Linked DNA regions of Homo sapiens: regions 1, 3 and 4 are each linked to region 2. The links are contacts of gene promoters, found by promoter capture Hi-C in blood cells and fetal thymus (Javierre and others, 2016). All regions are on one chromosome and are shown on one strand. Each heading gives the region's core, a stretch centred on a gene start or on the middle of the fragment in contact. The rest is flanking DNA. Distances are from core to core; before and after follow the strand shown. Region 1 overlaps SUFU (SUFU negative regulator of hedgehog signaling). Region 2 holds the start of ELOVL3 (ELOVL fatty acid elongase 3). Region 3 overlaps SUFU (SUFU negative regulator of hedgehog signaling). Region 4 overlaps SUFU (SUFU negative regulator of hedgehog signaling).

Evidence for each region. The method cuts DNA at HindIII sites, captures the fragments that hold promoters and counts their contacts. A CHiCAGO score of 5 or more calls a contact.
Region 1: a contact is called between a fragment that was not itself captured here and the fragment with the promoter of ELOVL3 in region 2, in 7 of 17 cell types (activated CD4 T cells, erythroblasts, naive B cells and 4 more). The highest score is 8.3, in activated CD4 T cells.
Region 3: a contact is called between a fragment that was not itself captured here and the fragment with the promoter of ELOVL3 in region 2, in 1 of 17 cell types (activated CD4 T cells). The highest score is 6.6, in activated CD4 T cells.
Region 4: a contact is called between a fragment that was not itself captured here and the fragment with the promoter of ELOVL3 in region 2, in 1 of 17 cell types (activated CD4 T cells). The highest score is 5.4, in activated CD4 T cells.

What each region holds. Positions count from the first base shown.
Region 1 is chr10:102,599,383-102,605,702 of GRCh38, reverse strand. It overlaps SUFU (SUFU negative regulator of hedgehog signaling), which reads right to left. Exons shown (of 12, transcript NM_016169.4): 8 at 6,159-6,270. Among named protein-coding and RNA genes, the nearest start is that of TRIM8-DT, 41 kb to the left of the region's middle. RefSeq lists enhancers at 784-1,983, 5,201-5,951. The HindIII fragment of the contact is 3,650 bases long and covers 3,246-6,320 here.
Region 2 is chr10:102,224,601-102,230,905 of GRCh38, reverse strand. ELOVL3 (ELOVL fatty acid elongase 3) reads right to left here and starts at 4,607. Exons shown (of 4, transcript NM_152310.3): 1 at 4,257-4,607; 2 at 3,149-3,280; 3 at 2,338-2,489; 4 at 1,317-2,081. The coding sequence starts at 4,357. The coding sequence ends at 1,654. It overlaps PITX3 (paired like homeodomain 3), which reads left to right. Exons shown (of 4, transcript NM_005029.4): 4 at 1-717. The coding sequence ends at 392. It also overlaps a transcript of GBF1 not described here. RefSeq lists silencers at 154-253, 264-523, 880-1,048, 4,576-4,625. The HindIII fragment of the contact is 5,656 bases long and covers 4,388-6,305 here.
Region 3 is chr10:102,517,030-102,523,068 of GRCh38, reverse strand. The region is part of intron 2 of SUFU (SUFU negative regulator of hedgehog signaling); the gene reads right to left. Among named protein-coding and RNA genes, the nearest start is that of SUFU, 16 kb to the right of the region's middle. The HindIII fragment of the contact is 4,891 bases long and covers 2,151-6,039 here.
Region 4 is chr10:102,620,211-102,626,703 of GRCh38, reverse strand. The region is part of intron 10 of SUFU (SUFU negative regulator of hedgehog signaling); the gene reads right to left. Among named protein-coding and RNA genes, the nearest start is that of TRIM8-DT, 20 kb to the left of the region's middle. The HindIII fragment of the contact is 4,153 bases long and covers 1-3,610 here.

The DNA of each region.
Region 1 (6,320 bases), core at 3,821-6,320, 370 kb before region 2:
AAGGCAGAACTGGAAAAGGGTGTGGCTGTGGGATCGAGGGAGAGGGGACCAGCTCACCTCTGAAGTTCTTATTAAGCACAAGGCTGTATAACCTGGTTATTCTGACAAATTTTCTTATAAGGACAATATAGGAGTAAAAGGCCACAAAAGGTGAATAGTAAACACCAATAACCAAATGACAAAATGCAGTATTTTCTTTTTTTGCTTTGAGACAGGGTCTCAGGCTGGAGTGCAGTGGTGTGATCACGGTTCACTGCAGCCTCAACCTCCCAGGCCCAGGCAATCCTCCCACCTCAGCCTCCTGAGTAGCTGGGACTACAGGCATGTGCCACCACACCTGGCTAATGTTTTGTAGAGATGGGGTTTTGCCATGTTGCCCAGGCTGGTCTCGAACTCCTGGACTCAAGAGCTCTTTCTGCCTCAGCCTCCCAGAGTGCTGGGATTACAGGTATGAGCCACCACACCCAGTTTAAAAATGCAATATTTGGCAGGGCACAGTGGCTCATGCCTGTAATCCCAGCACTTTGGGAGGCTGAGGCGGGCAGATCATAAGGTCAGGAGTTCGAGACCAGCCTGACCAACATGGTGAAAACCCATCTGTACTAAAAATACAAAAATTAGCTGGACGTGGTGGTGTGTGCTTATAATCCCAGCTACTCAGGAGAATCGCTTGAACACAGGAGGCAGGGGTTGCAGTAAGCCGAGATTGTGCCACTGCACTCCAGTCTAGGTGACAGAGTGAGACTTCACCTCGTGTTAAAAAAAAAAAAAAAAAAAAAAAAGGCAATATTTTCATCGGGAATATCCCAAAGGTAAAATGTGATCATGAAATCATGAAATGGTGGGACAGAGTATGGCTAAAGAAGTCAGGGTGAGTAAAATCTGCATCAAGGTTAGGGGATTTCCTAGTCAACTATTAACTCCTCTGGGCACCAGGGGCCGCCATCCCCAGCCCTACCCTCTGACTTGGGTGGGAGATTAGGACCCCTACTCTCCTGAATGAGCTTACTCTAGCCAGAACCCCAGCTTTCCTTTTTCTGAGACACTGAGTCATTTCCTTTCTCTAGCTCTTACCTTTGAGCCTTCCTTTTCCCTTCCCTGGAGAAGTGACTCACTGCTGAAGTGTTGGGTGACACCGAGGATCAAGGATGGGCGATAAAAATACCCCTGATTGTGCAACTCGAGGGAGGGGGATGCAGCGTTTGGACTGAGAATTCAAGCACCAGCAAGGAATTCTGAAGTTGAGGTGTTAACAATGGCCGTGACTTCATCTCTTTGGGGAAGCGGAGCAAAGAACGGAGTTAAAACAGAAATTTACCCATGCCAGACTTGCTGTGGAGCCCCTTGCTCTGCCCTTTCAAATATGTATTTCTGAGAAAGGCCTGTAAAGGCACTTGGCATGACAACATGGATCACAGTGAGGGAGGCAAAAAGGAGCCTGCTGTCCAGGACGCAGGGAGCAGAGAGGCCTGGGCTGTTCCTCTCATCAGCCCTGCAGAGTCTGGCTGGGGCCCTAAGAGAAGGGCTGTTTCTTTCTGGGCTTTCTTTCCAGTGCAAGCAACTGTACTTCCCCAGCGTGGGAGTGTGAGGGAAGCCAACGTGACAGAGAGGGCTCCAGGCTGGCCACTGCGCTGACAGGAGAGACCCCTTGAAGCAGGGTTACCCAACACTGCCCTTCGTGCGAGCGGCACCAGCCACAGCCCAGCTGTTTCCCCAGATGGAAACTCACCTTCCTTCACCCCAATTCACTGGTAAGTTGGATGCAAACAAGATATTTTCTTCCTCTAATTAATCTTCATGGACCTCACAAGCTGAGCAAAACAAAACACAATTTTCTCTAAAGGATGACTCCCTGGCCAGGTTACAAGGTATTCAAGATGGGAATTAGAGGGAGCAAAGTCACCCCAATCAAAGGCCAAACAGACAAGTGCAGAGACACTCCTAAGAGTAGAGAGAAATCTATGTATATGTGTGTGTGTGTATGTTGGGGAGGTGTTGCAAATGTGAATGTTACAGCAGAGGAATTCATGGTACAGAATCTTAATTCTCCATGAAATTAAGGCAAAAAAAATTTTTTAAAGGTCTTAAAAGCTGCTGGTGTGATTCTAGAAGACTGAGAAACTCAGCAGTGATGGTGAGTTCGCTTTTTAGAGGTGCCTCAACTACAAAGTGCTTCTCCCATAGTCAGGAACTTTTCCCCTCTAACATAAGTGTGCACACCTGCATGTGCCCTGTCCCTCTCTGGGAGGGCACACAACTCAGAGAGCTTCCTAAGAGTTCCCAGCCTCAGGTGGTAAGTCACTGGCTGAGGGAGGAGGTGGCCCTAGAATACTGGTGCAGGTTCCCAGCATCTGAGCAACAGTTTAGAGAAATACAGGCCAGGTGTGGTGGCTCATGCCTGTAGTCCCAGCATTTTGGGAGGCCAAGGTAGGAGGATCACTTGAGGCCAGGAGCTCGAGGCTGCAGTGAGCTATGATCTTGCCACCACATTCCAGCCTGGGTGACAGAAGGAGACCCTGTGTCTAAAAAAAAGAAATAAATAAAAGAAAACCTCTACACACAATTCACCTGACCACACGTATCTTCTGTGCACTGTAGAGAGACCAGACTCCGTAGACCATGTCTGACCAGGTGACCTCAGACAGAGAGGATGCCCAGGAACTTTTCCCTCCTCAAATCTCTACAGATATTGGCAGGCACAGTCTTTAAGCCAGGCTGTCCTCATGTGGCACAAAGGAACTGCTTCCCATCCTTCCCAAACTCACCCGAGCAGGCAGTGGGAAGGGAGGCGCCAGCAAGCTGAAGGAGGCTTTTCTCAACTGATCATCTTGGGAAAAGCCAGATACAGATTTCATGGCTGGAATGCAAGGGTTGTGAAATGCTGAAGAAGCCCCAAAGAGGGCCAAGGACTCTCCTTCCGGGAAGGCAGTGGGAGGAGGGCTGGCAATGAAGAGTAGGAGAGGAGCGGGTTACCCAGGGGGCCTGCCTTTCTGGAAAGGAAGAAATAGACCCTCAAAATGGAAAGAAATCCCCTAGCCCTGAGGTGGTAGAGGGACCAGAGAGAGGGTTGTTTTAGTTTCTGCACATGAAGAAAGTAAGGCCTTGTGTCACAAAATAATTTTGGTATAAATGAGCCAATTATGACATAGCTTGTTATTTCTGGGATTTGGAATCATCAAGGCTCATGGCATCTCATAGGAGTTATTTAACTCCCCTAGAGTTTAGTTAAATAAGCCCAATAAGCTTCTAATATGAGGCTTTGGCCTTGTCCTTGGTGCCATGTGAGAGGTCCTGATTCATGCTGCAACTAGTTAGATGAATTCTACCAGTAAAGGTCATTATTTTCTCAGAGACACAGTCTGATGTGTCCCCCATGGGGTCCCTGAGAATGGGGTAAGGAAGATTACATCCATTTTAATGGCTGATAGATGGCTGTAACTAAGCTCTACCCCTTTCCAACCTTGGAAAAGATACTTATTAGCCTCTCTGTACCTCATCCATTAAAGGGGAATATGTAAGATTATCGACCACAGGATGGCTATGAGGATAAGATAAATGAATGGCAGCACATAGTAGCTGGCACATTACCTAGCACAGAATGAGCACTAATAAGGTTTTAGCTGCTGCTGAAGTGTGAAAAGAGCAAGTGCTTGACACCCCCAAGTAGGCCGGCACCCGGCTGCTATTGCCCAGGCTTGATCAGCTGCTCTGAGCCTCTGATTTAGCTCTGTATCTTCCTTAGACCACAGACAAACCCGCGAAGACCCATGCATAAGAGCTCCCTGGCCCAGAAGTCCTGACTAAGGGGAAATCAGACCCGCAGACAAAATATGGCCCACGCTGGCTGCCCCCCAACAGGGAGAGGAGCAAACACTGGTGCCAGCACATTTTGGGTCAGCTTTCTCAGTTGCAATCCATGTGGTGTATGTGAAATGGGGTCAGGTCCCAGAGTGGGCAGCACAGATATTACCGTCACGCTCACTGATCTGAACTGAGTCCATCATCATCGATCCTGAGATAACAGGAAACTTGAGTCTGACAGGCTTGAGGGGTGTGTTGGAGAATGTTCTTGGCAAAGGAGGAGGAGAAACCATTTCTCAACCAATTGCTAACAAATTGGTAACCAATACTGACAGCCTCAGAGGAAACATTCTATTCCCCTCAGACTACAGGTCCTGGTGCTTTAGAGACCTTACTGGGCACTAAACCTTCAGGAAGGGGAGACAACCCCGGCACCTCGAATCTATTCTCACCCATCTCTCTGTATCTCAGCCAACTCAAGCCAAAGGGTAGAAGCTGCAGCCTCTCTGCCTTATGTTTACAGAGAACCCTTGGGCCAGAACCAATACCCGACTGCCCAGTTAGGGTGTAGGCTGAGAGTCTCGGCTTATGTGTATATCTAGGAGCACAGAGCCTTGTGCCCCATTGCAATGTCCAGGGGTGCAGTAGCTGGAAGTGCCCCCAAGCCAGGGAGTGAGATCTCAGGCCTGTTCCAGATACACAAGCGGGGCAAGAAGGTTGTATCTCTGCAGGAGCTTGTGCCCTTCTGCCTAGAAACCCCAGGCTTCCAGAGGCAGAGAGCCATCTGGACTGAGACTGTGTCCATGTTATAGGCCTTCCAGTACCTCTGGCCTGCCAACAGTGCCAAGGAGGCCCAAAGCGAGAAGCCAAGCTCAGGGAATGGGAAGGAGTGTAGACCCGGGACAGGGTCCAGACTCACAGGTAGAGAGCTTCCATATGTCGTATGACCTGGTGTGGCCATCTGCTGCTGCCAGGGGATGATCAGGATGCCTCCAGCCAGCTACTTCAGGGCAGCTGGCTGGAGAAACCTACAGGCCGGAGTTAAAAGCTGCTCTGAGGTGGCGGTGGAGGCTTCTCCAGGCTTTTGCCAAAGAGCTCAACTCTCAGTACAGCCCTGTTCCCAGAGTAACTCTAGTTCCAGTCAGGTCCCAGCAGGCAGCCTCAACTTTAACCAGCCAGGCCTCCCCTGTGCTATCCTCTTGAGTTCCTTCCCCTGCTTATTAAAATTCTAAGGTGCCCTCAAGGTCGATGCTATGTTCTTCCTCCTCCAAGATGCCCTCCCTAACTACCCCAGATCCTGTGGACCTGTCTTTTCTGTAGTGCACTGAAGCATTACTACTTCTGGGAAACACGATCAGCAACTAGAGCTAGAATCCAGAGAAGCAGCCATTTCCAACAAATCACATCGACAGCCAGATGCACACCATTAAAAGGTAACTGTTTCACTCATGTTCTCCCAAAGGAAGAGCCTGTGCACCCCAGATGGCCCCCTAGGTCCGAGCTTGTCAGACAGCAAATGTGTAATAAAGACTTCATAGAAGAAGGCTAGATCACCCTGGTCTTGCAGGATGATCAACCTCCCTTTCAGCCCAAGGCACAGCAATTTCCTCCCTGGCAGGCAAGGTTCCTGCTTTGGGCTGCCAGCCCCCAGGTATCTCCTGCCAGCAGCTATTCCCTAGAGCTGCCCTGGGACTAAGGGCAGAGGGGGGTGCCCAGCTTCAGCCCTGCCTATCACTCATCCCCTCTATCAGAGGAAGAGAGGTTGGCAGGAAGCGGATCTGACCTCTAGGGTGGCCACAGTCTCTCCGGAGGGCTACAGGGGCCCCTGGACAGGCAGCAGAGGCCTGCAAAAGACTTCCTTTCCCTTCCCTGGGCCCCAGGGAAGAGAGGCAGGAAGAAGGGCCTCAGCCACAGGCATCCAGTATGGGGCTGGCCAGAGAGGGAGGCCCCCAGGGTTGCAGCTATCAGCCGGAGACCAGGCTCCAGGAAGGAAGGAAGGGCAACTCTGGCCAAGACTGAGATAAGGAGGGAACCGTGCTCAGCACAATGGGCTCCCACAAGGCTGGGAGGCCCCAAGTCAGATTTCTCCCCAACCTGGCCTCCTGTCTGTTCACACGGCTCATGTAAATATTTACTGATGTTAATATTCACGGTCTGCTGGGTCCCCTCTGAGGCCCTCTCCTATGACCCACAGATAGATCTGTGTGCCCCAGACCATGCCTGCCCTTAAGCCTAGAGATCCTGGGCCCATCCAGCAAGGGCTATGTGCATTGTTCTCTCTCATGCAATCCACAGGGACAGGCCCTTCAGAAAAAAGTCGTCCTCTTGTTCCAGCCCAGGGACACTGGGGAACTTACGGGGCCCGGTCGTGGGCGAGGCCATTCTGCCGCTGAGGGTTGATTGGTGGAAGGACAGGTTTGCTGTTGATCTCGAGTCCTCTCCTCAGGGTCTCCCGGATCTGCTCTGTGTCTGCAACGACACCACTAAGTTGCCCAGTGGCCCAGTGGGCTCCCAGCAAT
Region 2 (6,305 bases), core at 3,358-5,857:
CCTTCAACTCGGTCAACGTGGGGCCTCTGGCTTCGCAGCCCGTCTTCTCGCCACCCAGCTCCATCGCCGCCTCCATGGTGCCCTCCGCCGCGGCTGCCCCGGGCACCGTGCCAGGGCCTGGGGCCCTGCAGGGCCTGGGCGGGGGCCCCCCCGGGCTGGCTCCGGCCGCCGTGTCCTCCGGGGCCGTGTCCTGCCCTTATGCCTCGGCCGCCGCCGCCGCCGCGGCTGCCGCCTCTTCCCCCTACGTCTATCGGGACCCGTGTAACTCGAGCCTGGCCAGCCTGCGGCTCAAAGCCAAACAGCACGCCTCCTTCAGCTACCCCGCTGTGCACGGGCCGCCCCCGGCAGCCAACCTTAGTCCGTGCCAGTACGCCGTGGAAAGGCCCGTATGAGCGGCCCCGCCCGTAGATCATCCCCGAGGGCGGGGGCAACGATTCACAGCCTCCGCGGACTGGGGTCATTTTGACTGGCTTGCTCCCGCCCCAGGGTCTGAAAGGGGTGTTTGGGCAGCTGGGGGGCACCGGCTCAGGAGAGGGCCTTCCCCTCCCAGCCCTGAGGGGTGGACTAGGCCCTACACACAGACCGCGCCCCTGGGACTAAAGCCAGGAACAGGGACCAGCTCCCCGGGGGCCAACTCACCCTTGGCCCATCCCGCCTTCTCCAGGCTTCCCCTCCCTCGTTTTCAAAGATAAATGAAATAAACGTGCGCGGACTGTCGAAGGCGTGATGATTCAAAGTTGCGCTTGAGTCCTCTTCCCTTCATCCTCCCCCACTGTCTACAGGCGAGCTGGATGTACAGGAACGAAGTGAGGGTCCAGGCTTCTAGGGACTCAGTCCCACTCACCACCCCCCCTACTCCAGGTCGGGGCAGCCCGGGATTCCTGCAGCAAAGAGGTGCGTGCGTGCGGGGGACGTGGGAAACCGGCTACCTGGCTGGCATCGGCCACAGCCGGTGCTGCGGCGCCACCTCGTGGTCTCAGGGAGGCTAGCTGGTAGATCTGGTCTCCAACGCTTCCTTGTAGGTGTCAGCTCTGCTATTCAGGGAGCCTATGACTTTAGATAAAGTTACTCCGCCTTTCTGCACCTGTTTCTCACTGTTCCTATGAGGGGCTTGGGTCTCTAACAGCAATAAAATTCTGGTCTGTAACAGACATTTGTTAAGTGCCTACCAGGCCTAGGATTCTTTCAGTGTCTGTGTGTGTGCCTCTCACCCTTCCACACACCCTCAGGCGTCCCACCTGCAGATCATCCCCTTGGTAGCAGCCTCCTGCCATCACAGCAGCCCTCTTTCCCCCCAAATCCCCCAACTCTCAAAATTTTGTTGAAATCTTTAATTTAAAAAAACAGAGCAAGAAGAAGAAAGATTTCTGGATAGAAATTAAATAATCAGCTCTTAGGACCCTCCTCCGCCCCACTCCCATCCCAGGGCCTGCTTGGCCTTCACATTAAAAACAGAAACATTAAAGTAACAGACCACACCCCCATCCCAAGGTCACCCTTCTTGTCTGTCAAAAATTCCAGCCACCTTGGGGCACACATCCTCTGGGGAAACCATGCAGGTAAGGCAACCTAATCATTCTCCCAAAACTAAGCCCAGCCTCTTGGTGCCCTGGAGAAGAGAGAGCCTGGAGCTTCATTGTTCTCTCCAAACCTTCACTGGCTCTTGGTCTTGGCTTTGACCTTGGGCCTGATGTAGGTCTGGCAGAAGAAGTGGGCAAAGAGGATGAAATAGGTCATATACAAGATGAAGGACCAGAATAAGTGTTCCATCGTGGTGTGGCATCCCTGATCCTGCCTCCAGATGTACGTGAGGATGCTGACGATGGCTCCTACAAACATCTGCAAGATCTGCAGGCTGGTGATGAGCATGGGCAGCATCTTGGGGGGCTTCACGTTGGCAGCCTTCAGAGTGTAGTAGGTGTACATGATGGCATGAACACCAAAGTTCATGGTGACGAACCAGCCTCCTGCAGGCACTTTGTTCTTGTATCCAAAGCTTGTGTACACGAGCACTGTGCTGTGGTGGTACCAGTGAATAAAGATGAGTGGCCGCTTACGCAGGATGATGAAGGCTGTGTCTCCTGGGAGATGGAGAGTCATAGTTGGCATACCACCCAGTGCTGGGACCACCCTCTGCACTGGATGTAGGGACACGGGAGAAATTCTCAGGGGAGGGAAGGGGGTCTTTGTGGCAGAGAATCTGTAGAGGGGCTTGGGTGAGAGGTATTATTGGGACCCAAGGGTAGGAAAGAGACCCTCCATGGGATGGGTGAAGGGAGGGCCCTGAGGAAGGATGCAGTTCACAAGGCACCAGAAAGACAAAGCTTTGCCACTCACCGAGTTCTATGACCTTGCTGAGAAGAAAGACCCAGGACCAGAATTTGACTGTGGAATTATCGATGAAGTTGATGAAGCACACGGTTTGCTTTAGGCCCCCGGTAAGTAGCACAGTCCCCATAATGCCCCACATCCTCACTGCCCCCAGGATACTGAAATGGGACAAAGGAAGATGGTGTAAGTGTCATCCCCAGGCACCAATAATCCACCCTTCCCCCGGCTTGGCCAGGTTACTGTGTTCCAAGCTCTACCACCTCCCCACCTGTCCACAGGGGGTGGGTCAAAGCTCCTGAGATCCTGAAGCCAATCTGGTAGATCCAATCAGTAGTCTAGAGGAGACGAGGGCTGGAGAAAGATCAGGGAATGCAGGGGGATGGGACTGAAAGTTGAGTTAAGGAATGGGGTTCTTGGGAGGGGTTAGGAGCCTGGGAGGAGATGTGTAGAGGGATAGGGGAAGACTGAAGGAGTTTGGGGGAGAAAATATGGGGAAGTTATTGGAGGGTCTTGAGAGAGGGTGTTAGGAGGTGACACTATTAGAGGCTGGAGAAATTAGTTGCGAGTACAGACTCTACGAAGGCAAGAGGGACAAAGCAGAGACCACCAGGTAGGGGTCTAAAAGAGAAGGAAAACAGGATAATATAACAGAAGAGGGTGAAGGCTGGGAGGGGAACTAAAGCCGAGAATGAGATGGGGAGAGTGTTACAAGGCAACTTGGGGACAGGATGGAGGTTGATGCAATCGGGAAAGCTTCAAGGGATAGAATGGTGGTCTAAGATCTAGAGAAGAGGCAGGGAGTGGGATGGGGTCTTACCTGAAGATTGCAAGGCAGAAGGACCAGAGGATGAGAGGCCCTTGCAGGTTGAAGCCCTTGCGTTCCTTCATGTAGTTCTGCCCCACAGCGATGAGAACCAGGTAGATCAGGGCTATGGGGAATGAGGTTGCCCTGGCAAGCAGAAGGCAGAGGGATGGGCTCATGGGTGGGTGCTGATTAGAGAAATGCCCACTCATCTCTCCAGGTGAGTGCTCTGGGTTGGAGTCCCAGTTCTGCCACTTACTAGCTATGTGACATTGGAAAAACCAACTTAATTCTCTGAGCCTTGGCTTCCTCATTTGTAGAGCGCGAATACTACATCTCTCCTGGGGGTATTAACGTATACAAAGTATCTAGCACAGGGCAGGAGCTATGTCCAAGGTTTCTGTGATTATTGCTCTCTCAGTGGGGTTAGAGGTGGGTGACGGCTGTCTGGCCCGCGCCTAGAAGCAGCCCAGGGCTGTGGTGTAAGAAGTGTGGCAATAGCTTCTCCCTGGTTGGGGCTCCTAGAAGCATACCAGGGCTGTGGCGTAAGAAGAATGTGGCAATAGCTTCTCCCTGGCTGGGGTATGGCAAATTGGTTGGAGCATAAAGTCAGCCTCCAAAACCTCTGGGGAGCTTTAAGGCAAAGCCAGAGAGCTCTTCCTGGGGAAAGCTTGGAAGAGCTCTCTGACTTCGCCTCCTTCTCCACAGCAGGAACGGTGGAGCACCTGGGGAACGATGGGATAATTGTAAAGGGCAGGCTGTCCCCCGGGCCCTGCACTGTGCACACACGCGCGCACACACAGCCACAAAGGACGGGGAAGTCATCTAGTAAGGCTTCAGATCAACCTCACGCCTCCAAGACCCTTCTCACTACACGCTCTCTTTGACTTCTGTATATTTCCACGTTCTCCCTCATCCTCTTATTTCTGCTTGCTTGCTTTCAGCTCTAATCTCTTTGAGGTGCCACATACTACCTGCACCTCGGACAAAGGTAGTGTGAAGCCAGTACAAGGGAGTCCCATAACTCTGCTCTGTAAGAAAATCATTGTGGGCATTCAATGCCACCCCCTCGCGCCCCGGCCCCGGGGCCCTGGCATGGCCTTTCCCTCTCCCAAAGTCTCACCAATACTCCTCGAAAAAGGGCCTCATGTCCTTGGACAGCTCGAAGTTATAGGGCTGGAACAGCTGATTTACTTCATGTGAGACATTCATGGCTGTGACCATCTAGTTTTGCAGAAGTCAAGGTCCAAAGCTTGGAGGCGCTGGGTGAAAGGCTGGGGCTCCGAGGATGGCGTGAACCTCGGGGCGAGACGGAACAGAGCCGGGACAGAAGGAACTCCTGGGCAAAGGGAGGAGGGCGTCGAACCTAGGCATGTGCGCGGCGGCGCAGCCAGCTATCCCGGGCGCAGCCACTGCGATATATAACGCGGACTTGCAAAGCTGCCTGCCCGGGCTGGCGCGACCTCTTTCCTGCGCCCCGCCGCTATCCAATCTCGACCAAGATACGCCTCTGCTCCGCCCCTGGGACGCAGTCCGCATTCTGATTGGTCATACTCAAGGGCCCGCCTGCCAGGCGTTTCGCACACCCCGCCCCAAGTCCCGTCGTAGGCCATCGCCCGCCCACTTCCCCAGCCTTTTCTCCCGTAAAACGTCCACCCCATCCTGTGCGGCCTTGCGGGTTCCCTTGGAACTGTCAACCGTGGCCTTTGCCTCGGTTTGCTTTAATCTTGACCTGCTTAGCAGTGAAGAGAGAGGAAAGGTGTCCTTAGGCTTTGGTGCTCCCACCCAGAAATGGAGGCGTCAGTTTCCAGGCTCCCTGAGATCCTGGGAAACCCAGGCCTGTGATGAGCAAATACTAACCTGGGCAACGCAGAGCTTCTGTAGTCCCTTCCACCTCCTAGCTTCGAGTCTGCGGTTGTGAGTGGGTGGAAGGAGATGAATTTTAAGGAGTTTTATTGTTGAGGTTGTTGATGTTGATGTTTGGGTTGTTGAGGCTGTTGTGGTTTCTTTATAGTTTCCTGAATTCCTGAACTGCTCCAGACTGACAGTAATAACCATGGAGAGAGGAAATGGGGTCACCCTCTGGGCTTCTGGAATTATTGTCTTCAGGTTTCCTGGAGGCCTCTTAGGGTTTAGGGAGGGGGAGAGCCAGTGTATCTCCCCAAGGCCTGTTGTTTTCTCTCCCTAACCAAATCTACTTCTTTCTCGCCTGTGTAACCAGCCCCAAAGAAATAAATGTTCTAAAACTTTTAAAAGTTTTACTTGGCTGTCCCTTATTTCTTTCCTAGGTTTTATGAAAGCGAAGGAGAAATACAAGGCTTGAGGGCAGTTTGAGATAAGGTGGAAATTTGCAAAAAGTGCTAAGAAACATAGATATAAAATAATTAAAATCAAGATGTGGGTATAAATGGCTATGTGCAGTAAAGCTCTAGAGCCAGAGGATCCAAGTAGGAACCCCAGCTCTATTTCCTGAACCTCAGCCACTGTCTATGCGAGGGTGTAGTGGAAGTCCTATCAGTGCCATCTAAGTGACTCAAAAGTGCATCTCTTTGTCTCTGTACCTCATCACTTCTCACCTGGTCACGTTACCTGGTTGCACTGCCTCTTTCTCTAATACAGTGCTTCTGCTCTTCACTGCATTGCAATCAGAAAAGAGTTCCTATACCTGGCTGATTACCAGATTCCTGAGCCTCAACTGCAGAGATTCTGGTCCTATAGGTTGTCTCAGACTGTACTTGGAAAACCACTACTTTCTGTTTGCTCATCCAGAAAACAGCTCTGCTTTCCTGCTTAAAAACCTTCAGTGGTTCGGCCGGGCACGGTGGTTCACGCCTGTAATCCCAGCACCTTGGGAGGCCGAGGCGGGCAGATCATGAGGTCAGGAGATCGAGACCATCCTGGCTAACACCGTCAAACCCCGTCTCTACTAAAAAATACAAAAAATTAGCCGGGCGTGGTGGCAGGCGCCTGTAGTCCCAGCTACTCGGGAGGCTGAGGCAGGAGAATGGCGTGAACCTGGGAGGCAGAGCTTGCAGTGAGCAGAGATCGTGCCACTGCACTCCAGCCTGGGTGACAGAGTGAGACTCCGTCTCAAAAAAAAAAAAAAAAAAAAAAACCTTCAGTGGTTCCTGATGGCTCCATATATAGCCTGACAGCTAATCAAAAGGTGATC
Region 3 (6,039 bases), core at 3,347-5,846, 290 kb before region 2:
CTCAAACTCAGGCCTGGTCACATCATTTCTGAGCCTCAGGACTCCTGCTTGCCAAGAGCCCTCCACTAGGCCTCAAGCCATGGACTGCTGAAGAGGAGACAAAGAGGCACCAGGTGATAACCTAAGGCTGTGAAACTGTATCAGGCCCACCTCCCCACAATGTCTTCTAGCTCAAGGACCCTTCAGCCCAATGAGGACCAGGACCAGGTTTATGTTGCTTGTTACTACAAGCCTCATGCCCAGAACTGTGTCCCAACGATGACAATCTACGGAGCAGATTAACGTCTGGCCTTCCAAAGAAGAGAGGACAGCGATCAACGCTGGATGGGAACTAAGTGTGTCTGCTTACCCACAACCCAGTGCTAGGAAAGGACAGTGGGCCACTCCTTCTCTAGATCTCTAGATCTAGTCCTGCTGCAAACATACAGTAGTATTAAGTTATCTGACTTCCTGTGTGACAGAAGCCCTAAATGGTAGCCCATTTGTTTCAGGCAATTACCTGAAAAGGAGCTCTAGGCATTTGTGCTTATGCCTGTGAACCTTCTGTGTCCCTCGAGTACAAGGACCCTGGGGCACTCTGTAAGCCAATCTCAGTCTTCTGTACCACGCACCCAAGAAAGAGAGAAAGGAGGAGGCGTGTGGTATTTATTCCAGGTGACACTGATCACCAAATCTTGACTGTTCTAAGGGGAAAATAACAATAAAAGCAACAACTGGAAGAACACAACCCCTCAGGACAGCTACCACCATTTGTGATAGTAAAGCTGTGATCTGAGAAGTAGGCAAACAGCACAGTTCATACATATACTACCTAAACCACTCTTCACTGCTGTGAGACGTCAAGGAGGAAAAATGGGAATATCGTTAATGTAACATGGCAGTGGGTAAGAGCTATCTTCCCAAGCAAATGTGCTGTTTTCAGAATCTAGAAACCCTAGCAACAGTGGGCAAGCTGAATTCAGACAACAGCGTTAAGCAGGTAGCAGGGAAGCCTCAGAAGATGTTAAGTCCTCACTAAGAAGATGAGATGCACGCAAAGCAAAAGCCCTGTGCACAACTGGGACAGCGTCACTCCCAGTTATTTATAGAATCATTTACAGAAATCATCATAAGAACAGACATAGAATTGTAAACAAAAGGTGATAGGATTATCAGTAATTGTTTTCTCCCATTTCTAATTCCCAACATTTTTAGTAAAATGGTTCAACTGTTTTTATAAGTGAAAAAAAGCAAAATTACAACTAAGACATTGGATAACAATAACGAATTTAACAGCAAAAGGCCAGGCCAGGAAAGTTTTAGACTTTGTCTTCTTGATGCTGGTTCAACTATGAGAGTTTGAGATCTGGTTGGGGCTTCAAAGGAGCATGGTATATGCATTTCTCATCAAAGGCAAGGTTAAGCCCAATAGGGTATGGAATGGACAAATCTGCATACCAGTCTCTCTACAGTCTGTACTGGAGGGCAGAATCAATCTCAAACCTTAGGATTGAGGTTGCAAATCTCAGTAGCAGCTACACTTTATGGAAGACACCATCATTGGAGAATATAAGGTGGAGAACTCATGAGCCAGCCCCAGTTAAAACCAACAGCAACTTAGGAATTCAGAGGTAGGCCCAGCACCTACTCAGCGGATCTAACTCATTTAACGGCTTGAGAAGTGACCAAAAGAAAAATATGCCAGAAAGCATAATTAGCCCCATGGTCTGAACCCATGATGTGAGAAAAAGGTATGTATGGGCAGAGGTAGAATGGGGAGTGGCTGGAGGTTAGGAAGAAAAACAAAGATATGTCACCAAAGAAGATATACAGATGACAGACAAGCATATGAAAAGACGCTCAACAGCATATGTCATGAGAGAACTGCAAATTAAAACAATTAGATACCACTCCACACCTATTGGAATGGCTAAAATCCAAAAAACAGACAATACCAAATGCTGGTGAGGACATGAAACAATAGGAACTCTCATTCATTGCTAGTGGGAATGAAAAATGGTATAGCCACTATGGAAAATGGTTTGGCAGCTTCTCATAAAGCTAAACATAGTCTTAACATACGATCTAGCATTACATTCCTAGGGATTTACCCAGATGAGTTGAAAACGTATGTCCACACAAAAACCTGTATACAAATGTTTATAGAAGCTTAATTAAAAATCGCCAAAAAATACTGGAAGCAATCAAGATATTTTTCAAAAGGTGAAAGAATAAACTGTGGTACATAACAAACAATGGAATAGTATCAAGTGATAAAAAGAAAGGAGCTATCAAGTCACCAAAAGGCACGGCGGAATCTTAACTGTATATTACTCAGTGAAAGAAGCTAGTCTGCAAAAGTTACATACTATTTGATTCCAACTCTATGACCTTTTGGAAAAGGCAAAAACTACAGAGATAGTAAAAAAAACCAAACAGTTGTTGCCAGGGGTTTCGGGGGAGGGAGGAATGAACAGGTGGAGCACAAGGAATTTTTAGAGCAGTGAAACTAGTTTGTATGGTGCTGTGATGGTATATACATGACATGCATTTGTCAAAACCCAAGAACTGGCCAGGCACGGTGGCTCACGCCTGTAATCCCAGCACTTTGGGAGGCCGAGGTGGTTGGATCACCTGAGGTCAGGAGTTCGAGACCAGCCTGGCCAACATGGTAGAACCCCATCTCTACTAAACATACAAAAAAATTAGCCGGGCGTGGTGGCGGGTGCCTGTAGTCCCAGCTACTCAGGAGGCTGAGGCAGGAGAATCACTTGAACCCAGGAGGCGGAGGCTGCAGTGAGCTGAGATCGCACCATTGTGCTCCAGCCTGGGCAACAAGAGTGAAACTCTGCCTCAAAAAAAAAAAAAAAAAAAAAAGAAAGAAAAAAGAACTGTACAACACAAAGAGTGAAGCCTAAGGTAAACTATGGACTTAAGGTAGTAATAAGTATCAATATTGGTTCCCCAATGATAACAAATAAACCACAATAATGCAAGGTGTTAATAATAGGGGAAACTGGCCAGGCGCGGTGGCTCACACCTGTAATCCCAGCACTTTGGGAGGCCGAGGTGGGCAGATCACCTGAGGTCAGGAGTTCAAGACCAGCCTGGCCAACATGGCGAAACCCCCTCTCTACTAAAAATACAAAAATTAGCTGGGCGTGGTGGTGGGCATCTGTAATCCCAGCTACTCGGGAGGCTGAGGCAGGAGAATTGCTTGAACCCAGGAAACGGAGGTTGCAGTGAGCTGAGATCATGCCACCGCATTCCAGCCTGAGCGACAGAGCGAGACTCCATCTCAAAAAAACCCCACAAAAATATAAAGTCTATTGATTAAAAATAAATCATTAAAGGAATTTAAAAAATTTTAAATGACTATCTGCATTGATATAAGGATCACTGAGATGCTGGGCACATCCCTGACCACAGAAGCAGCAGCATGACCATGGGAACTTGCCATCTAAGCCAGAAATTTTTATGTTTTTAAAAGTTGCAGACTTTCCTGGCAACTTACTGTAAATGACTACGATAAGGTTGCAGAAGACTTTTTTTTTTTTTTTTTGAGACAGAGTTTCTCTCTTGTTGCCAAAGCTGGAGTGCAATGGCATGATCTCAGCTCACTGCAACCTCTGCCTCGTGGGTTCAAGCCATTCTCCTGCCTCAGCCTCCTGAAGAGCTGAGATTACAGGTGCCCGCCAACAGGCCCGGCTAATTTTCGTGGTTTTTTTTAGTAGAGACGGTTTCACCATGTTGGCCAGGTCGGTCTCGAACTCCCGACCTCAGGTGATCCACCTGCCTCAGCCTCCCAAAGTGCTGGGATTACACGAGTGAGCCACCATGCCCAGCCTGGTTGGTGAAGTCTTGACTTGAGAGATGACACCTGTCACCTGCTGTCCCATTTTACCCTCCTGCCATTGCCCTGAAGGACTCTTTCTTTTTTTTTTTTTTTTTTGAGACAGAGTCTCGCTGTCTCCCAGGCTGGAGTGCAGTGGCGCATCTCCACTCACTGCAAGCTCCGCCCCCCGGGTTCATGCCATTCTCCTGCCTCAGCCTCCCGCCTAGCTGGGACTACAGGCGCCTGCCACCACGCCTGGCTAATTTTTTCTATTTTTTTAGTAGAGACGGGGTTTCAGGGTGTTAGCCAGGATGGTCTCGATCTCCTGACCTCATGATCCGCCTGCCTCGGCCTCCCAAAGTGCTGGGATTACAAGTGTGAGCCACCGCACCCGGCCAGACCCTTTCTTTAAAAGCTGCTTCCAGGCCGGGTGCGGTGACTCACGTCTATAATCCCAGCACTTTGGGATGGCTTGAGCTCATGAGTTTGAGACCAGCCTGGGCAACATGGCAAAACCCAATCTCTACAAAAAGTATAAAAATTAGCCAGGCATGATGGTGCATGCCTGCAGTACCAGCTACTCAGGAGGTTGAGGTAGGAGGATGACTTAAGCCTGGGAAGCAGAGGTTGCAGTGAGCCAAGATGGAGCCAGTGCACTCCAGCCTGGGCGAGAGGGCCAGGCCCTGTGTCAAAAATAAATAAATAAATAGATAGATAGATAGATAGATAGATAGACAGACAGACAGACAGTTAGATAGATAGCTTCTACATCCAGCTCAACATTTCCCCCCACAAAGCACTTTCTGGTTAACTCTACTCAGTCTTGATCATTTCATTCCATTAATCCAAGATAACTTTGAATTTAGCAGCATAATTCTGAATAGAATTCTCCAGCTCTCTGCAGGAGGTAGAAAAAGGAGGTGGTGACTACTGGATCCAGACTGCCTGGGTTTATATCCCAGTTCCAGCATTCACTGGCTGGGTGGATGAGTTCCTTAACATTTCTGCATCTCAGTTTCCTTATGTGTAAAATAAGGATAATAAGTCCTACACCATAGAGTTGTTCTGAGGATTAAATGAGTTTATATAAAGCACTTAGAAAAGTGCCTTATACAAAGTAAGGGCTATAATTGTTTGTAATAATAATTATATGTTTAAAGTTTCTTGGAACACTGAAGATCACAGGATGAGGGGAGAGAGCCTCAAAGTCACAGGGAGACAGGAAGCTGCTCCCAGTCCCAATCCTCACTGTCATCTTCTTTCTCAAGGACCTCACCATCTCCTACCAAGCACATGCTGCATTTTTAAGGGCAGGCGCTCGGTCAGATTCTTCATTGTCTCCACACTCAAACACATCATCTTGTCCAATGTTCTGCCTGTACAGGGGACTCAAGATAGCTCTGCTGGTGAGTGTGCTGCACAGCCTGGTTCTCAAGAGCTTGGTAGGCAGGACAGCAAGCTGCAAAGTTAGTTGGACGGGTGAGGATACCATTCCTCAGGGCTGAGGTCATAGAGGATAAGATCCCACCAGACACATCTCAGGAACAACATCAGAACTGAAACAAGAAATGAAGCTGCACTGAATACCTCAGAGGCAAGATACATGAATGAATTCAGGAGTCAAGGGCCAAAGGCCAGAGTTGGGACCCCTGAATCAGAAAGGTGGATAAGGGAGAGGCTAGCAAACTCAGACCCAGGACATGAGAGGTATGGGGAATAGCATTCAAAATAGATAACAGCACAGCTTGGAAGAGGAGAGCCCAAAAGGGTGGGCTGAACAGGGAAAAATCCCGGGACTGAGAGATCAGATTGCATCAAACCCATAAAGGCTTCCAAGTCTCTTGAGGAAGAGAAGGAACTTTCCCAGCGCTGACCTACCTGGCACCACTCTGGCCTGGTAGTCACTTACAATACCACACCACTCAGTTGTTCTTTTTGTTTGTTTGTTTTGCTTTGTTTTGTTTTTTTGGACAGAGTCTCACTCCTTAACCCAGACTGGAGTGCAGTGGCGAGATCTCGGCTCAGTGTAATCTCTGGCCCCCGAGTCCAAGCGATTCTCCTGCCTCAGCCTCCCAAGTAGCTTGGTTTACAGGTGTGTGCCACCATGCCCAGCTAATTTTTTTTTTTTTTTGAGATGGAGTTTCACTCTTATTGCCCAGGCTAGAGTGCAATGATGCAGTCTCGGCTCACTGCAACCTCCACCTCCTGGATTCAAGCGATTCTCC
Region 4 (6,493 bases), core at 285-2,784, 400 kb before region 2:
TCTGGAAGTGCCCTGGAAGGTACATCCAAGAATGTCTGAGCTGGAGAATCTGGAGATTGTGGACCAACGTCTCATTTTACAGATGACAAAGGGACTCCCAACTTCCATTCCCATTCACAGTAGCCACATCCTCCCAGGCTGGAAGCTCCCAAGCCCCTGACCTGCTGTGCTCGATCAGCCACTGAGTTCCTCCAGCCTTCTTTGAGGTTCCTCTTCTCTAGGTCACCTCCCAGCATTCCACGTTGCTGTTCTAGTCTGACACCTCATTGCCTCTCGCTTTGATGCTGAGTCTGGCCCCACTATTTGGCTGGCACAAACACCAACTTCATCCGCTAAAGAAGTTTTCACAGCCAATACCAACGTCCAAGGGCTCTCAGGCCCTCTAAAACCGGCCTTCCTCAATCTGCTGGGCCATTCTTCCCCACCCACCCCTCTCGTCAGGCTGCTAGGCAGAGCCAGGCCAAGCTGATCCCAGGTCTGCACCCCACCACGCCCTGGGTGAGGGTGTCTTTCCTCTTCCAACTGTGACCCCTTCCTTCACCCCTCCCCCTCCCTGTCCTTGTCCCCAGGGCCTCCCAGCCTCCCTCCACTGCAGACCCTTCTGTACCCCCAGGCCACAGCTCTACCTGTCTTCTCCCGTACACCTTGAGCACCCAGGTAGGGCACAAAGGAAGAAAGATAATGGGGTGAAGATCCAGGTGAGGGGCTCCTCTGAGGGGAAACCCTCCCTGTGAGGAGGAGAATTGAGAACTTGAAAAAATACCCACCAGGTTTCCCCTGGGAATTGTCAGCTGCCAAGAACAAAAGTTTCCACGCTGTGAGATAACAAGGAAGGAGTGCACACAGGAAGGTGAGCACACAGGACGGCTCGGGAGCTCACAGGACGGAGGTCTCTAAAGCAAGAAGTGGACGGGGTGGAGGAGGGAGTGAGAAATAAGAACACTACCCCCAAGTGAGCAGAAAAGCCGCCATCATACCGGGCATGCTAACTGCTCATCTCCATGTCTCCTTACAGTGGAGGAAACAGGCACAGGCAGGTTATGTAATTTGCTCAGTGTCACACGGCTTGTGAGTGGTTAAGACCATATCCTGATCATGTCTGGACTCTCAATTTAGTGCCTGGAGTACTGCTCCCGAATGCTGAACTCTCACCCCCAGGACACTAACTCATCCATTCATCCTTCCAGGGACACAGGCATGAAGGCAGCTCATTTCCCACCAGGACAAGCACCCTCTTTTGGCTGGCAAGGAGACAAGAGACCCAGCCTTCCCAGGCTCCAAGCCCATAGCAGGAACAAAATAACTCTGACCACTGGTCCACGTCTCCTCACCAAACTCTCTGTTCTAGGAGCTAGGGCCCCGACCAAGGACAGAGACAAGGCTTAGAGACAGAGCAGGAGAGGCAAAGTTGGCAAAGTTCGGGGAGGTGCACCCCTACAGTTCTTCCTAATTCCCCAAAGTGGGACTGGCCGACTCTGCCCACAGACTCCAGCCATACACGTACTCCCTCTCACAGCCTAAGCCCTTGCTCCTCCTACTCTCTTATCCCAGGGGTGTCCTCCCCAAAAGTTCAGTTTCCCCACCAGTTATCACCAGTCTGCTCAAGCAATACAAAAGTTACATTCATATTTTTGGCATTTCCGGGGCTCGTTGCCATCTCTGCAAATGCTAGCACAAACACAAGCATACCTAAAACCCAATTATATTACAATGGCTCCAGTCTGGGCCGGGCTGGGCTAATTTCTAACTCACAAATAACTTGGAGGGAGGGGCTTTCTGCCAGATCAGTAAATAGATGTGGGACTATAACAAGTGCTGGGGGTGAGATGGGGTGGAGGGAGGACAGGAAGAGGGGCAAGGGTTCACAGAGGCTGTGGCCACCCAGTGAGACGCCAGAGTTATTCTTCAAGGAAACGTAATGCCACCAACACTGAGTTCAATTCTAAGCTGGTTCCCCTGACAAAGGTCTGGAACTGGTGCTAAGGAGAGGGTGAGTTATGGTGGCTTTTAGTAGAGCAACGACCATGCGCGGCACCATCTGTGTGTGGACTTATTTTGGACTCGGTTGGGGGAGGGGATGGCCAGATCAAAAATGAGGACAAACCCTAGCTGCTCCTCCATTTTTGCTTTTGGTGATTTGCTGGTTCCCGCTGGAAACTTCACGTTATTTTAAAAGAATTAAAGGGGAAAAATTATACATGAGATCTACATGATATTAAAGGTGACATTCTCTGCAAAGAAACACGACAGACTGTCATAGCTCCAGGCACCTAATTTAATTTCCTTTGGGAGTTAAACCTTAGAAGGTTGGATTGAACAAACAGGCCCTGTTCTTTGTATATTTCAGACCTGGAGCTGAGAATGTTAACAGATCTTATCAACAGGACACTGGAGATAGACAGCTAAGATGGGGCAGCTCCTGGGAGCTCTCCCGAGTAACAGACTTGCCCTTGTGATGCAACTGTGGGAAAAGCCTGTGCAGTTCTGGGGCTTGGCACTCCTGAGGCTCACTGGGTCCCTACAGAGCTGCTTGGCTCTGTCACGAATAATAATGGGAATGGTGATGATAAAAATGACAGTAAAAATGGCCAATAGCAGAAGCAGTACCTCCACCATGTGCTAGGCGCTGTGCTAAGAGCTTGATCAGTGTCATTTCATTGAATCCTTATGGCAGTTCTGCTAGGGAGGTGACTATCATCCCCACTTTGCCCAAGGGTAGGTACCCAGAGGAGACAAGGCTCTGGACTTTTCTTTTTATTTTTTAGATGGAATCTCTTGCCCTATCGCCCAGGCTGGAGTGCAGTGGTACAATCTTGGCTCATTGCAACCTCCGCCTCCTGGGTTCAAGCGATTCTCCTGCCTCAGCCTCCCGAGTAGCTGGGATTACAGGTGACCATCACCATGTCCGGCTAATTTTTGTATTTTTAGTAGAGATGGGGTTTTGCCATGTTGGCCAGGCTGGTCTTGAACTCCTGACCTCAAATGATCCATCCGCCTTGGCCTCCCAAAGTGCTGGGATCACAGGCAAGAGCCACCACGCCTGGCTCAAGGCTCTGGACTTTAGAGGAACGGCTATCTGATCTCATGGTGATAGAGGATGCTCTTTTCCTGTCTGGGGAAGACACCCCAACTGTAGAAGCCTATATAGATGGGGATAACTTCTCTGTCTTCTGATGAGGGAGGTGAAGGTAGCTTTGGTTTTTACCAATGACCTGGAAAATCAGCAGTCCCAACCTCCACCAGCCACACATTTCCTGGCCACCTGCTCAACTTAAGAGGGCTAGAAGCCTGAGAGTCACAGACACTGCTAAAAAACCAGACTGGCCAATGAAAAGGAAGGCAAACCAATGCCCAGAGATGGTTCCCAAGTGGGGACGGTGGGGCAAATTCCCAGGCCAGCCTAGTGAATACATATATCTTGACAGTTCTCTAGCCCAGAAAGTAGCAGTAGAAATAATATTGATAACAGCACTCACTGATATTTGCACTTACCAAGAGCCAGGCAGAAAACACTTATGTTTGTACACAAACAGCCCTCAGAGGGAGGAGACCCTCTAGTAAGAGAGGAAGACCCTCAACCAATCTGAGCAGCACACTCCCCTGGGAAGCTTCTGAAAATATGGCGATGCTAGGCCCCATTCACACTTCCTGAATCAGAATACTCTGGGGTAAGGCCAAGGCCCATGCTTTTTTTTTTTTTTTTTTTTTTTTTGAGACGGAGTTTTGCTCTTGTTTTCCAGGCTGGAGTGCAATGGCACGATCTCAACTCACCGCAACCTCTGCCTCCTGGGTTCAAGTGATTCTCCTGCCTCAGTCTCTCAAGTAGCTGGGATTACAGGCATGTGCCACCATGCCCAGCTAATTTTTTTTTTTTTTTTTTCTTCTGAGACGGAGTCTCACTCTGTCACCCAGGCTGGAGTGCAGTAGCATGATCTTGGCTCACTGCAAGCTCCGCCTCCTGGGTTCATGCCATTCTCCTGCCTCAGCCTCCCAAAGTGTTGGGATTACAGGCGTGAGCCACTGGGCCCGGCCAGGGGCTGGAGTTTTGTCTGCTGTTTAACAGCAGACAAACAAGCTGGGACTACAGGCGCCCGCCGCCATGCCCGGCTAATTTTTTGTATTTTTAGTAGAGACGGGGTTTTACTGTGTTAGCCAGGATGGTCTCGATCTCCTGACCTCATGATCCGCCCGCCTCGGCCTCCCAAAGTGCTAGGATTACAGGTGTGAGCCACCGTGCCTGGCAATTTTGTATTTTTAGTAGAGATGGGGTTTCTCCACATTGGTCAGGCTGGTCTCGAACTCCCGACCTCAGATGATCCACCCACCTCAGCCTCCCAAAGTGCTGGGACTGATTACAGGCGTGAGCCACCGCACCTGGCCAGCACTTGTATTCTTAAGTGGTGCCCCAGGAGATCATGGTGAGGGGCTGCTGGGGAAATACTCAGGCCCACAGGGAAAGGGGGTTTGGGCACAGGCTTAACCAACAGGGGTGAGTTGGTGGCTGTAGCTTCACCACCATCAAACGGGCTGAGCTGCGAGGGGGGCAATGGATCTTGGTTACCCCCAGTTCCCACCTTTGGCCAGGGAGGGGGGCTTGGAATCTAGGCCAGCAGCTACTCCAGTGGGCTCACACCAGCTGCCTTAACCAGCTTGGCTGGGTGGTGGTGAGGGAGGACTGTCAACAACCTCCCAATTCCCCAGGCCCCAGCAAGTTCCAGAAAGGAACCCGAAAAGTGATCTTGTGTCAGTGCCTGCCCTGGGCAAGCCAGGCTGCACTGCAGGCAGGGGCCCAGCTGCTGCAGATCTGACGCCGATTCAGATGTCTGTGGTCAATGATATTTCTGAGTCTGCAAAGAGTGGCTGACAATGCCCACTCCTTCCCTTTGGTATGACAATCCACACTTTGTCCAGGGCATTGTTTGTTCTTCATGTTGACACGTTGTACTTGCTTCCCAACAAATTTGGCTTTCTTTTCCCTCCCTTTCCTCCTCTCAGGGAAGGAAATGTGTTGTTTACAGTGGAAGAGCCTGCCAAGGAGCTGCTCTGGCACCCACGATGGCAGTGGAGGAGGCAGGGACGGGGAAGCAGTCCTGTCTGCATCCCTTCCCTCCCACCCCCACTCCACAGGCCAGACAAAAGCCAGAAAACAGCCTGGAGAACACCCCCAACCCAGGTCAGGGACAGAGGCGTGTGGTGCGGCAGGTAGCGGGCTGCAGTTGGGGCACAGGTCTCGCTCATTTCCTGTTCTTAGTGGGCGGTGAAAAGTTGGCTCTGGTGGCCAGAAGCGGGCTCAGACTCCTGCTCTGGCTGTGGGCTGCCAGGGACACAGGGCGGCATCACAGTCCTTTCCTACAAGGGAGGGTACTTCCCCAGGCGCATTGCTGGGCTCTAAACCTTAATGGGTGTCCCCCTGGACAACAAGGTCTCGGGGCAGTCCAAGCAAAGGTCTCCAGGGAGAATAAGTATGCCTGGGTTCACCCGTGGAAGGAGGAACAGTAGAGGCACCAAAGAGGAGGTGCCCAGGGCATGGGCTGGGGATTCCCAAGTCATCTTCTACACAATATCCAAATGGGTAGCAGAAGGCAGGGCTTGCCCAGAGGAGAGCTCGGCAGCACCTTCCCAAGCCTGGCCTGGAGCAGCAGAGCCCACTTGGAACAGCTGCTGGGCGTCTTCTCCCACGCCTGGGGCTTCCCATCAGGACTGGCAGAGAATGGCTGGGACTAGGGGCGCAACCTGGGTGAGCTGTCAGACACCACACAGCTGAGAAAGCATTGCGGGGCCTAAAACAATATTCTCATATTTGGTGATGTGACCCCTATGTGACCGCTGGGGCTGAGACTTATCCCCCTTCAGATCAACCCTGGCTGGGGACGGATGAACAACTCAGCTCTGGGCCGGGCTCCCGCTCAGAAGACTAACAGCCCAGTGTTGACAGGCTCAAGGGAGAGAGGCTTGTTAAAGCCACCAGGATGAGGAATGCTGGGGGAAGGAGGTGCAGGAGCAGACCTTGGCAGGCCCCCTCCCAGGGTCTGAAGAGCCTCCTGCACAGCCCCGGAATTGGCTGATAAGCTTTACAGTCTCAGCAAGGATGAAAACAGCAAATGGCAGGGCAGACGGAGTCAAGGTGCTGTTCTCCAGAAAGTGAAAGCCTGTGGAACTGGAGCTGGCTTCCTGCACCCCCAGATCCTCCATAAAGCAGGGAGTGTCCACTGTGCTCCACCTGGTGCTGCAGACAAGCCCTGCTTTGCCACATGCTGGGGCCCTGACTCTCCTGGGTCTGGACTGATGGGGGAAGGCTGTGGAGCAGGTGGGTGTGGAGGCCTGTCTGGGGCCATTCCACAGGCTCCGGAAAGGGGCTCGGGTTCCTAAACCTTCTGCCTTTTCCTCTCGGCCTCTCCTTGTCACTCTTCCCCCTGCAGGATGTCTCTGCCACGCTTTCTCCCAAGAGATAACAGGCCTGGGCTGGGCTGGTGGCCAGAACAAGGTGCCAAGG